Linked DNA regions of Homo sapiens: regions 1, 2 and 3 are each linked to region 4. The links are contacts of gene promoters, found by promoter capture Hi-C in blood cells and fetal thymus (Javierre and others, 2016). All regions are on one chromosome and are shown on one strand. The core of a region is centred on a gene start or on the middle of the fragment in contact, and the rest is flanking DNA. Distances in the headings are between cores, read along the strand shown. Region 1 overlaps NT5E (5'-nucleotidase ecto). Region 2 has its middle 3.1 kb from the start of NT5E. Region 3 has its middle 8.9 kb from the start of BCKDHB. Region 4 holds the start of UBE3D (ubiquitin protein ligase E3D).

Evidence for each region. Contacts are between HindIII fragments. The CHiCAGO score rates a contact against its expected background, and 5 or more counts as called.
Region 1: a contact is called between a fragment that was not itself captured here and the fragment with the promoter of UBE3D in region 4, in 1 of 17 cell types (naive CD8 T cells). The highest score is 5.1, in naive CD8 T cells.
Region 2: a fragment that was not itself captured here is called in contact with the fragment with the promoter of UBE3D in region 4 in 1 of 17 cell types (total B cells); the score reaches 6.2 in total B cells.
Region 3: a contact is called between a fragment that was not itself captured here and the fragment with the promoter of UBE3D in region 4, in 1 of 17 cell types (fetal thymus). The highest score is 7.2, in fetal thymus.

What each region holds. Positions count from the first base shown.
Region 1 is chr6:85,462,587-85,465,286 of GRCh38, reverse strand. All of the region lies in intron 1 of NT5E (5'-nucleotidase ecto), which reads right to left. Among named protein-coding and RNA genes, the nearest start is that of NT5E, 14 kb to the right of the region's middle. The HindIII fragment of the contact is 2,109 bases long and covers 331-2,439 here.
Region 2 is chr6:85,445,651-85,448,350 of GRCh38, reverse strand. No RefSeq gene overlaps it. Among named protein-coding and RNA genes, the nearest start is that of NT5E, 3.1 kb to the left of the region's middle. The HindIII fragment of the contact is 2,150 bases long and covers 176-2,325 here.
Region 3 is chr6:80,096,422-80,099,121 of GRCh38, reverse strand. No RefSeq gene overlaps it. Among named protein-coding and RNA genes, the nearest start is that of BCKDHB, 8.9 kb to the left of the region's middle. The HindIII fragment of the contact is 927 bases long and covers 788-1,714 here.
Region 4 is chr6:83,064,542-83,067,241 of GRCh38, reverse strand. It overlaps UBE3D (ubiquitin protein ligase E3D), which reads left to right and starts at 1,401. Exons shown (of 10, transcript NM_198920.3): 1 at 1,401-1,600. The coding sequence starts at 1,524. The HindIII fragment of the contact is 10,412 bases long and covers 1-1,745 here.

The DNA of each region.
Region 1 (2,700 bases), core at 136-2,635, 2.4 Mb before region 4:
ATTATATTCCTAGCACTTGGCAATAACTGAAGTTATAGTTTTCATTTATTTGTTTGATGCCTTCTCCACCTCCCCATCCTAACTTGAGCCTAATCCTCCTGAAAGTAGTGACTTTGACTGTCTTTTCACCTCTCTTGCCCCATGGGGAGAGGAGCCCCTTATTCATGGTGCTCAATGTGGTGGGATGGACTGAGTAAATGATCTCATTCCTACTCATACCTTCAACTGTAAACCGAAAATCTCCAGCCCTGACTTTTCTCCTGACGTCTAGATCTGTATGTCAACTGCCATGTGTCATTTCCTCCCAATGTCTCAAAAGTGTCCCAAGCTTACCAGGCTCAAAGCCTCTTCCCTGTGACTCACTGTCTTGGCCCAGGATGCCACCATATACCCAGTCAATAAAGCCAGAAGCCCTGGTGCGGTGGAGTCCCACCCTCTTCCCTCTCCCTCACCATCACGTCCTCTGGCATCCCTCTCCCTTACCTAAATGCTCCAGTTTCCATCCACCTATTGTTGCTGCCTTAGTGTGCTCCTGGACTACCACAGCCTCCTAACTGGGTTTCCAGCTATTCTCATTTCTTTTGCTAAACTATTCTTTATATTGCTGCCAGAAAAACTTTTCTCAAATGCAAACCTGACCTTGGCACTCTCTGCCTTAGGTCTCTACAGAAGCACAGCCTTTATGATAGAAGTAAACACCCTAAGCAGGGTCCAGGGGGCTCTTAGGGATCTGGTTTTGCCTTCCCCTCCAGCCTCATTCCTGACACCCACCCCATAAAGTGTGAGGAAACAAGGCAGGGGTAGCTCCCTCCCAGGCTCCGTCCGCTCCTCAGCAGTGACCCAGGGCACATCTCAGAACCGCAGTTTCCTCTGGAATGGCAGTGAATGAATAAAATAAAAGCAGTTAAGGAAATGAGCCAGTATTGAGTCAGCACTTGCCACATGCCAGCGTCATGGAAAGTGAGTTAGTAAAGAGTACAGAAAATCTGATTTCATGCTGTGAGGGTGGTACTCTTACTGCACTCATTTTACTGATGAGAAAATCTGAGATCTAGAGAAGTTAAATGAACTGTTGAAGATCACACAATTTGTAAGGGGGAGCTGGGACTAGAACCACTTCGGTTTGATTCCAAAGTTCTTAACCTCTGTGCTTGGCTGTATATTTGCATAAAGCCTAGCATACACAAAGCACTAAAAAAAAAAAAAAAAAAAAAAAAAATTCCTAACTACTTGCACAGCAAATGTATCCCTTGCACTACCACAGTGCAAGTAGTTAGTACTACCATGGCAGGGATTCACTGTTGAATGAATAAATGAATGAATGAAAGAATTACTAACAAGTTTCTTTCTTCTATACATAGCTAACTTTTCCACAGAAATTAATGCAGACAAATTCCTTTGTAAATACTTATTTTCTTTAGAAACTTGTATTTTCATTTGACTTCCTTCTACCAGTTTTTCTTCTATTGCACTTACGAGAACTCAGTGATTCCTAAGCTCTTCAGGATCATGCTACTCACCTCAGTACACCAAGTTCCCACCACACCGAGGCATACTGCAGGCACTCAAAAAATCTTGTAAATGCATTGATCTAGTTTATTCGTTTCTATTATTTTTGATTAATAACATGAAAACATCTCAGGAAAAGACTGCCCAAGAGAAGAACATAGAGCAGAGAAATACAGGGGATCATAACAGAGCAGATAATCTTATTCCACCTTTTTTGGTCCTCTCTGAAAGTTCCCATGTAACTTTCCTTATGTGTTCCTGTACATTTTTTGTAGCTAAACTGTTACTTGCCACTTATTGTTTAACCATCAGTTTAGGTATGTGATTTCTATGACCCTAAATCAGATCTTTTTTTTATTTGTATAAATGTATGGGGTACCTAAATCATGTTCTGATGCTCTTTCTCTCTTGTTCTGTTGCTTTCCAAACATTTCATTACTAAGATTGAGCTCATTCATTCACGAACCCTATTCCTTCACTAATTCTATCCCTATGACATCTTGTATATGTTTACTAAAAACACTAAACTTCACCAAATGCACTTTTCTGTAATTTAAGAGAGCAAAGCCCAGCAAAATGATCTTCAGTATCTCCAACAGCAAAATCATAGAAATACAATGTGAGCATCTGGTCCACCCCCAGCTCCTCACCCCCACCACTTTCTTTATGTAGGAGAAAACCTAAAACACTATTTTTAAAAAAAGAATTGATGATCTTATATGAAAGAAACTTTCCACACTCACACAGAACAATTAACAAACTCTCAAAAAAATTGTTTCATTCACAAACAAGTGCCAGTAAGGTATTAGTAGAAATATAAAGGTAACTTGTAAATTAAAACACAGAAATGAAAACAAGAAAACCTGGGCAATTGTCCAGAGAGGGCTACTGGAGTGCCAGGCTGTGAATTGTGAAGCTGCTGGCTAAGCTTTTCACCTGTTTCCAAGCAACTTGGTTTCTCACTTTACAACGAAGACATTGCTTAACTACTTTTTACCAAGTTTGTTTCAAATCCTGACTTCTGAAAAGTTTTAATGGTTCACGCACCAAATCATACCAAAATGGAGCCCATTTAAAAGCAGCAGGTGGAGTGAGTAGTTTTATTAATCATTCAGTAATCATCTGCTGGGCACTGGTGCCAGAGCTCACCTGGTGTCACAGAGAACATAGGGTCAATCTGATGTGTGAACA
Region 2 (2,700 bases), core at 1-2,500, 2.4 Mb before region 4:
TGGGGAACTGATCATTTGTTGTTTCTTGTCTTTTAAACCTAAGCCACTGCAATAGTTTCTGAAATTCCTGTTCTGGGGATGCTACCAGATTTCTGCTTCAATATCATTTCCATGCCATTTGTTTTCATATACATCTAAAATGGCCTTTGATTGTTTATTGCACCAAGTTCAAGCTTCGCAAACTGGCATTTTGAAGTCTCATTTTATCCAGCCAACTTTACCTTCCACTGTTCCTCACACATTCCCTTTGTCCTCATTTCTTCTCTCCAAACCACCATTTCCAGTCTGTCCTTAGGCCAAGGCCCGGGGTTCCTTTAATTTCTTGTTCAAGTCAACATGAAGTTCCTTTGACTTCTTCACACAGCAGTGAGTTTTTCTCTTTTCTAAATTTCTGGTCAGTTCCTACAATCTCACTTTAATGTGGTTTTACTTTTTTTCTCCAGGTGTTTAATGTGTGTTTTTGGTCTTCTCCCCAAGCAATGGAAACAGAGTTGCTGCTTCAGTGGTAGTAGTACTTGCAATTCAAGTAACACTAACTTAAAATCTACTTTAGACACAGTGGGCGATAGTATGAAAGAACCAAGAAGGATTTCGGCTGTCCTGGAGCTGATAATGCTGCAAACAAGGTGAGGGTGCATACAGTAAGTAGCTGCAAAGCCATGAGGATCATAGAAAATTTCCCAAGTCCATGAGGAAAGAAAAATATACAGGCAAAAATTTACATACAAATCAGGGCTTTATTTATTGTTTCATCAGTTGATTAGACTTAAGAAAGTAATGAAGAAAATGTCAAAATAATGCAGAATAAACTTAAAAGTGTGTGGTGCTAATATCCATTACATTGGGAATAGCCCCCCAAATTGAGAAAATATTATTTCAGTACATATTAGAAAACTATTTTCTGACTCAGGAAAAATCTCACTCACATCATTGATGAACAATATATCTAGTGCTAAAACTAGGTTTTAATTTAATGACTATAGCCTGTACTACACTCATTATATAATAGGGTGACAAATACTTTAATAATAGATTACATATTACATCCAATAACAATACGTTATTGATTTATTAGAAAATAAATGGGTATATAACTCCATTTGTCAAATCAGTTCAGCCGGAACCATAGGTTGGCTATGGATTGCAAAAGTTCTGCAAAAATCAATGAAAGCAGTCTGTAGGAACCAATAGTAAAATTTACAAATAGTAAATTGTGTGTAACAATCTTTTATATCAGAAAAATTTATAATAAATATGTATGTATATAAATGCATGCGTTTTTCTTTAAGAGTCAGTTGTTGAACATTTACCAGCACACCACTGGAGCTATCTAATGGATAATATATATTTAAGTTTCTTTTGTGATGAGAACCTATTTTATATCTTATCACAAAGTCTTTAATAAAATATCAATTTTTCTTTAAATTTGCTGAGATAGATTTATTTAGGTGGGCTGAATTAAAAATCTGAGACCTGCTTTTAGGTGAATGCGGGGTGAAAACAGGGACCGGCCAGGCGCGGTGGCTCACACCTGTAATCCCAGCACTTCGGGAGGCCGAGGCGGGTGGATGACCTGAAGTCAGGAGTTTGAAACCAGCCTGGCCAATATGGTGAAACCCCATGTCTACTAAAAATACACAAAATTAGCCAGGTGTGGTGGCGGGCGCCTGGAGTCCTAGCTACTTGGGAGGCTGAGGCAGGAGAATCTCTTGAACCCTTGGAGGCAGAGGTTGCAGTGAGCTGAGATCACGCCGTTGCACTCCAGCCTGGGCAACAAGAGCAAAACTCTGTCTCAAAAAAGAAAAAAAAGAAAGAAAACAGAGGGACCTTGTCATAGGCATCCTGGCACATTTGGATTATGCTGTTAAATGACTATTAATATTTCATCTTATTGGTAAGAAAACTTAATGTGATATTTAACCTGGCTGAATAATTTGCTTAAGATCATTCATGTCCAAGTAAGTGGCAGTCAGGTTTTGAGCACAATTGAATTCCAATACTCAGGTTACATTGTTAAGTCTTCACAAAAGCATGAAGGGTAAATATTATTATCTGCTCCCCACCCCCACTTTTTCTGTGGTGAGAACGCTTAAAATCTACTCACATAGTGATTTTCAAGTATGCAATACATTGTTATTAACTATAGTCACCAAATTATACAGTAGATCTCTTGAATCTATTCTTCCTATCTAGCTGAAATTTTATATTCTTTGATCAGCCTCTCCAGTAACCCTTCAGGCAGCCCCTGGTAACCACCATTCTACTCTCCACATTTTTGCTTTATCCATTCATCCATTGATGGACAGTTAGGTGGATTCCAAAGCTTGACTATTGTGATAATGCTGCAATATCATTCTCCTTTTATGGGTAATAAAATGGAGCTTCAACATGTTAAATTAATTGCTCAAAGTTCCACAAGTGGGCAGGATTTTTTTTTGTCTTTTTATATTTGTAACTCTATTTCACATAAAGGCTCTCTGTCCACTCAAAAGGTTTACCTCTTGCTGTCTGCCACCTGTTATGCCCAAGGAGTAGTTCTTGGTCTGGGGACTTCTGAGAAGGCTACAAAAGCTCAGAATCCTTTCTTGCAACTTTGCCGTGATCTCTTTGTGGCCATAGGAGGACCATCAGTCTATATTGGCCTCTTTAATAAGCCACAAATAATAAGAGTGGTTTAGATTCGAGTCAATCCAGGACACA
Region 3 (2,700 bases), core at 2-2,501, 3.0 Mb after region 4:
ATTCTTGGGTGGAAGAATTTAGCACCTGGTAGCCATTTCTCTAGTTCTCTTCCTGTGCCTCATCAGGTAGTAACATTTCAGAAACTAGAGCATCCATAAGCTGTTACTGGAATGACACTACATGGAGAATCACCTGTCCTTCTTCCATACTTGTTTCACCTGGAGCATGACTGAGAAACAATTTAACAGTGTATATTTTTATCTTTTAAAAATAGAACATGGCTTCTAATCACAAACCTACTTTACATGGTGTTCAGCTATTCTAACATATCCTAACTCTTCAGGAAACATTCTCAGTAATATAGTTACTAAAAGTGCATTTTTCTACAACATGATGCATAAATGTAGCTACACATTATTATTGTGGATTTAAACTGTTGTCAACTGTAATTTTAGCTAGTCACAAGTTTTATCTTGCACTTAGGTTTTGGAATCTAAACACTTAAAACTGATGCAACTCTCCTCTACTGAAGAAACACCAAAATCTTTTCTATGCACATTTTAATCTCTTAAAACAACTTGATGACAAGGTCTTGCTACAGTCACTTTACAGATGAGAAAACAGGATCAAAGAGATTAAACTGACTAAGCTGAGTTTAAGCAGTTTAAAGTTTTCCAGTCTGTATTTTTCATATTTCAAAATGTGTGGTCTTATGCTGTGTTTCTCAAATTTATTTCTCAGAGTAATCCCTGAGAAACTTGTTCAAATTTTAGATTCTCTAGGCCCCACGCTGAGAAATTCTTATTCAGTAGGCCTAGGGTAGACTATCTGCATTTCTAATAAGCTTTCCCCCATCCAGTGTCTTTGATACAAATAGTCCACATATCACACAAACCCTATAAACAACAAACAGCCTTTATATACACTGTGTTCTCTGTCCAGAAAAGAACAGCTACCACCTTTCCCCACTCACTCTTTTATTAAGTAGGGTTATTAGGTCACAACTACTGAAATCACTTCTTGCTAACTTACACAGAATTATGATTACTTTTCAAAATACAGGATGGCCCACAAAAATTGAAGAAAAAAAGCAGCCTCAGAAAGAACAGAAACCAGGATGGCCCCAGAGATTCAGGTAACAGGAGTTAATTTAGAAATGTGTGAGAATATTAAAACTCATAGGATGAATTGGCTCCAATGTCTTTATGTGATTCTGCTCAAGATTCAGTTTTTAGGAGAGAGAATCTGACTAGCTTAGATTAGTTCATTACTATCCCTTGACTAAGGAACAGTAGGGTATCCTACTGACCAAGACTATATACAAAGTAAAAAAGATTTCCCAGACATAACTCAAGGGACTGCTACCAACCAAAGGGAGAATTGATGCTTGGAAGCCAAAAAAAGACCTAATGACTATATAGTTATCCTGCCCAGGAAGTACCCATGTGGTCCCTCTAGTCATTAAAAAAAAGAAAAGAAAAAAACCCACTATGAAAGTACTTCCTCTGAATTCTTCAACATAGACTGGAAAATTGCCACTAGAAGACTACTTAAATATACTTAGGAATTTCTGTAGAAAATGGTGGTAAAGTTGAATATTCTTATATCCTCTCTTTTAAAAAGAAAGAGTAAAGGGGAGCAAATTAAACACACACATTTTACATATACAGCATAGTTAGGACAGAGACATCTACAAACTAAAAATTTATGGGAAAATGAAAAATAAACAGACAACATTTGGCTCACACAGGTAGAGGGAGTCTAGAGAAAGCTTTATTTGGAGCAGAAAGATCATCTGAATAGTCCTAAATCTACAAAAGAAGCTAAATTTATACCTTAAAATGTCCCAACAAACAAAACTTCAAGCCCAGATTGCTTCGTTGGTGAATTCTACCAAACATTTAAGTAAGAAATAATGCCAATTATATAAAAAAATCTTCCAATATATAGAAGAGAGGGTAATATTTTCCAACTCATTTTATGATAATATTAACCTAATATTAAAATCAGATAAAGACACTATAAGAAAAGAAAACTACAAATATTCCTCATGAGGATAGATGCAAAAATCTTTAAAAAAGCAAATATAATAAAGCAATATATAAAAATAACAGTATAACAAGGCCAAATGGACATAAGAATTCATAGGAATGTAAGGTTGATTTAACATTTGAAAATCAAGCAATGCAATTCACCATATCAACAGACTGAAAAAGGAAAAAGTAATCATTTTAACAGAGGTAAATGGAAAAAGTAATCATTTTAACAGAGGTAAAAAAAGAACATAGACAATAAAAAGCAGAGATTGTTAAACTGGATGAAAAATCAAGATCCAAATAAATGCTGTCTACAGAAGACACACTTTAGATTCAAATACTTAAACGTAAAAGAATAGAAAGATATATCTTGCAAGCACCAGCCATGAGAAAGGTAGAGAGGCTATACTAATATTAGAAAAAAATAGACTTTAAAACAAAAATACGGTTTCTACAGATAAAGAAGGATACTTTTATGAAGACAAAAGGGTCAATTCATAAGGAAAATATAAGCAATTTTAAACATATATGCACCTAACAACAGAGTACCAACATACACGGAGCAAAAACTGACAGAAATGATGGGAGAAATGGACAATTCTACAACAATGGTTGGAACTACAATAACTCACTTTAATAGTGGGTAGAACAACGAGGCAGAAAATCAGCAAGGAAATGGAAGACTTAAACACACTGTAAACCAACTAGACCTAACAGGTATTT
Region 4 (2,700 bases), core at 152-2,651:
ATATAAAAATCTTTTAAGCTAACAAAACAATTATAAAGAGTAAGTTGTGCTACGGAAGTTGTATATTTCAATATAATGTGTCAATATTTAAGCATTCAATAGCCTCGGGTACTAAAGGTGGAAGATATGAAGAGTTGAAATCATCATCCTTCAAATAGATGAATTATTTGAGACCAAATAATAGTAAACTTTATTTTTTTAAGTGAGTTGTTGCTTCCATCTATAACTTCAAATTATTGTGATAGATATAATAATTTGTGCATCAACATAATAAACTTTAATCACCCCAAATACTGATTTTAGAAAAATTGTCAAGCTATTATCTTAAAATATATGACAGGATTTATTTATTTAGAATTTATTTATGGTTTAGGCTGGGCATGGTGGCTCACACCTGTAATCTCAGCACTTTGGGAGGCCAAGGTGGGCGGATCTACCAAAAACAGAAAAATTAGCCGGGCATGGTGGCGCGTGCGCCTGTAATCCCAGCTACTCGGGAGGCTGAAGCAGGAGAATCGCTTGAACCCAGGAGGCAGAGGTTGCAGTGAGCCGAGATCGCGCCACTGCACTCCAGCCTTGGCGACAGAGCGAGACTCCGAAAAAAAATAAATAAATAAAAGCAGCTCCTTGTTTTTAAGAAGCCCTATTGTAATTCTACCCGGTCTTATATTTTAATAGTTCTTCATTATAAGTATTTACATTATACCAGGTTCTTTACTGTGTCAAACTTTTCAAAACTATCTTCTGGTAGTAAACTTCTCCAACTTCTCTTAGTTTTTACTTTTGTGAAAGTGAATAGTGGAGCTGTACATACGTAATCATTCTCATCTTCCTTTTTTACCCCCTAAAAAATGGTTAGTCCTGATAGACTTCAGCCACACTCTTCTGCATTAGGTAACAAAGAACTTCCTTATATTTTTGCACCTGTTTCAATTTTGGAGCTATCCTGTCTAAGTTGAGAAGCAATGGCAAGTCAATTCTTGAAAATTTTGTCGCTTTAGATAGAGGCTAACAAACGACCCTTGTTCATAAAGAGACCAAGATAAAGTGGGTTTGGGGCCGGGAATTCTGTTCTTGCATCTCCTGGGGACAAAGCCCACCTGTAACACTTGCCTCCATCATCTCCCTCCCTTCGAGCTAGCCAAAGGTGTGAACCCTGGGTCTGATTTTTATGGTCATTTCCAGGGATGCTAACGCGCCAAGTCACGCTCATAAGAAGCAGAGTGGGGCGATAGCTAGCCTCTCGCCGCCCACCTTTCTCAGCACTCTGGGCCAAAGCCTGGTTTTGAAAATGCGCGCCCCGCCCCGGCCTCCGGGGTCACGCGCCTTCTCGGTGGTGCACTCTCCGGCCGGCAGGTGGCGCTGTGAGCTGGTAGGCGGCGCCAGCCCTGCGATCTGGCACAGGCGCCTGCGCCGCAGCGGGGCTGCCGCTGGTTGGTCCGCACGTGGAACCTCTCCTGGTCCTGTTGACCCGGGCCCCTCGGAACCTCCAGCTTGGTCCGGTCTGGGACTGGAAGCCTGCCATGGCGGCTTCTGCGGCGGAGACGCGCGTGTTTCTGGAGGTGCGGGGACAGCTGCAGAGCGCGCTTCTGATCCTGGGGTAAGAACTGGGATTCTAGGCGCAGTGCCCAGCTCGCTTTACTGCTGCCCGGGGGTCGGGGGCTGGTGAGTCTCTCTCTGTACGAGGGATTTTGAGTTTCTTCTTTCCAGTTGCGTAGAGCCTCTCGATCACTCAAAGTGAAGCTTTCCCCTGTAGTCGGCTCCGCCACTCCCACCCCTACTGACAGTGTGGGTATCTTTGGGGAGCTTTTTAGAAATTCAGGGTCTCAGCTCCACACCAGACTTATGGAATCAAAACTTATATTTTAACAAGATTTCCAGGAATCAAATGCACATTAAAATTTGAGGAACAGTGATGTAAAACACTGTTGGCAGTGCCCGGCGTTTCCAACAAAACAATGCAAAAAATGATTTGTCTGTCTCTCTTCGGGATCCTCCTTACTGGATCAGTTCCTATGTGAGCTTCTTGTTTTGTAAATAACCTCGGGTCTTTTCGTCCAAAACTGCTCTTTGCAGAGAAACCACACAATCATTCAATAAACGTGAGTTTAGTGAACCACTAAGACAGGTTGTAGACTTCTTACTGGAGCTCGTTCATTTATTCATATTCTTCCTTCCAGTGAGAACGTCAAACTTGTTATTCGCTACACAAATAACTTTTAGGAAAAATGTTCTCTATTTTGTTTGACAGCAGTTTTAATGATTTGTGGTCCCCTTGTCTATTCCTTTGTGATCGCTGTTTCAAAGAGAGTAAGTTAGAAGTTAAAATCCTGAGAATGGTATTACACGGTGCCACAGGTAGATTGATGCTTAATTTTTTCCTCTTCCCTAAATCTGCCAGATATCTGGTGTGGCAATTTGGAATATGGCGTGAGAACTGAGTTCAAATGCTAGCTTCCTCACGAAATTAGAATAATTTAATCTGAATTTCTTCAATCTTGAAATGGGAATAATAGTACTCTGAATGTATTTCTTTTTCTCTTTCAAAATTTATGAATTTGGACAAATATCTCCAATTCTGGTGCACCTTGTAGAGTAATTAGGAACCCAAACCCTACCAAAATAAAACAAAAACCACACACACACAACAAACCCTCCCTTCCTCTCATGCAGGGGCCTTTCACAGTTCCCTTGGACTAC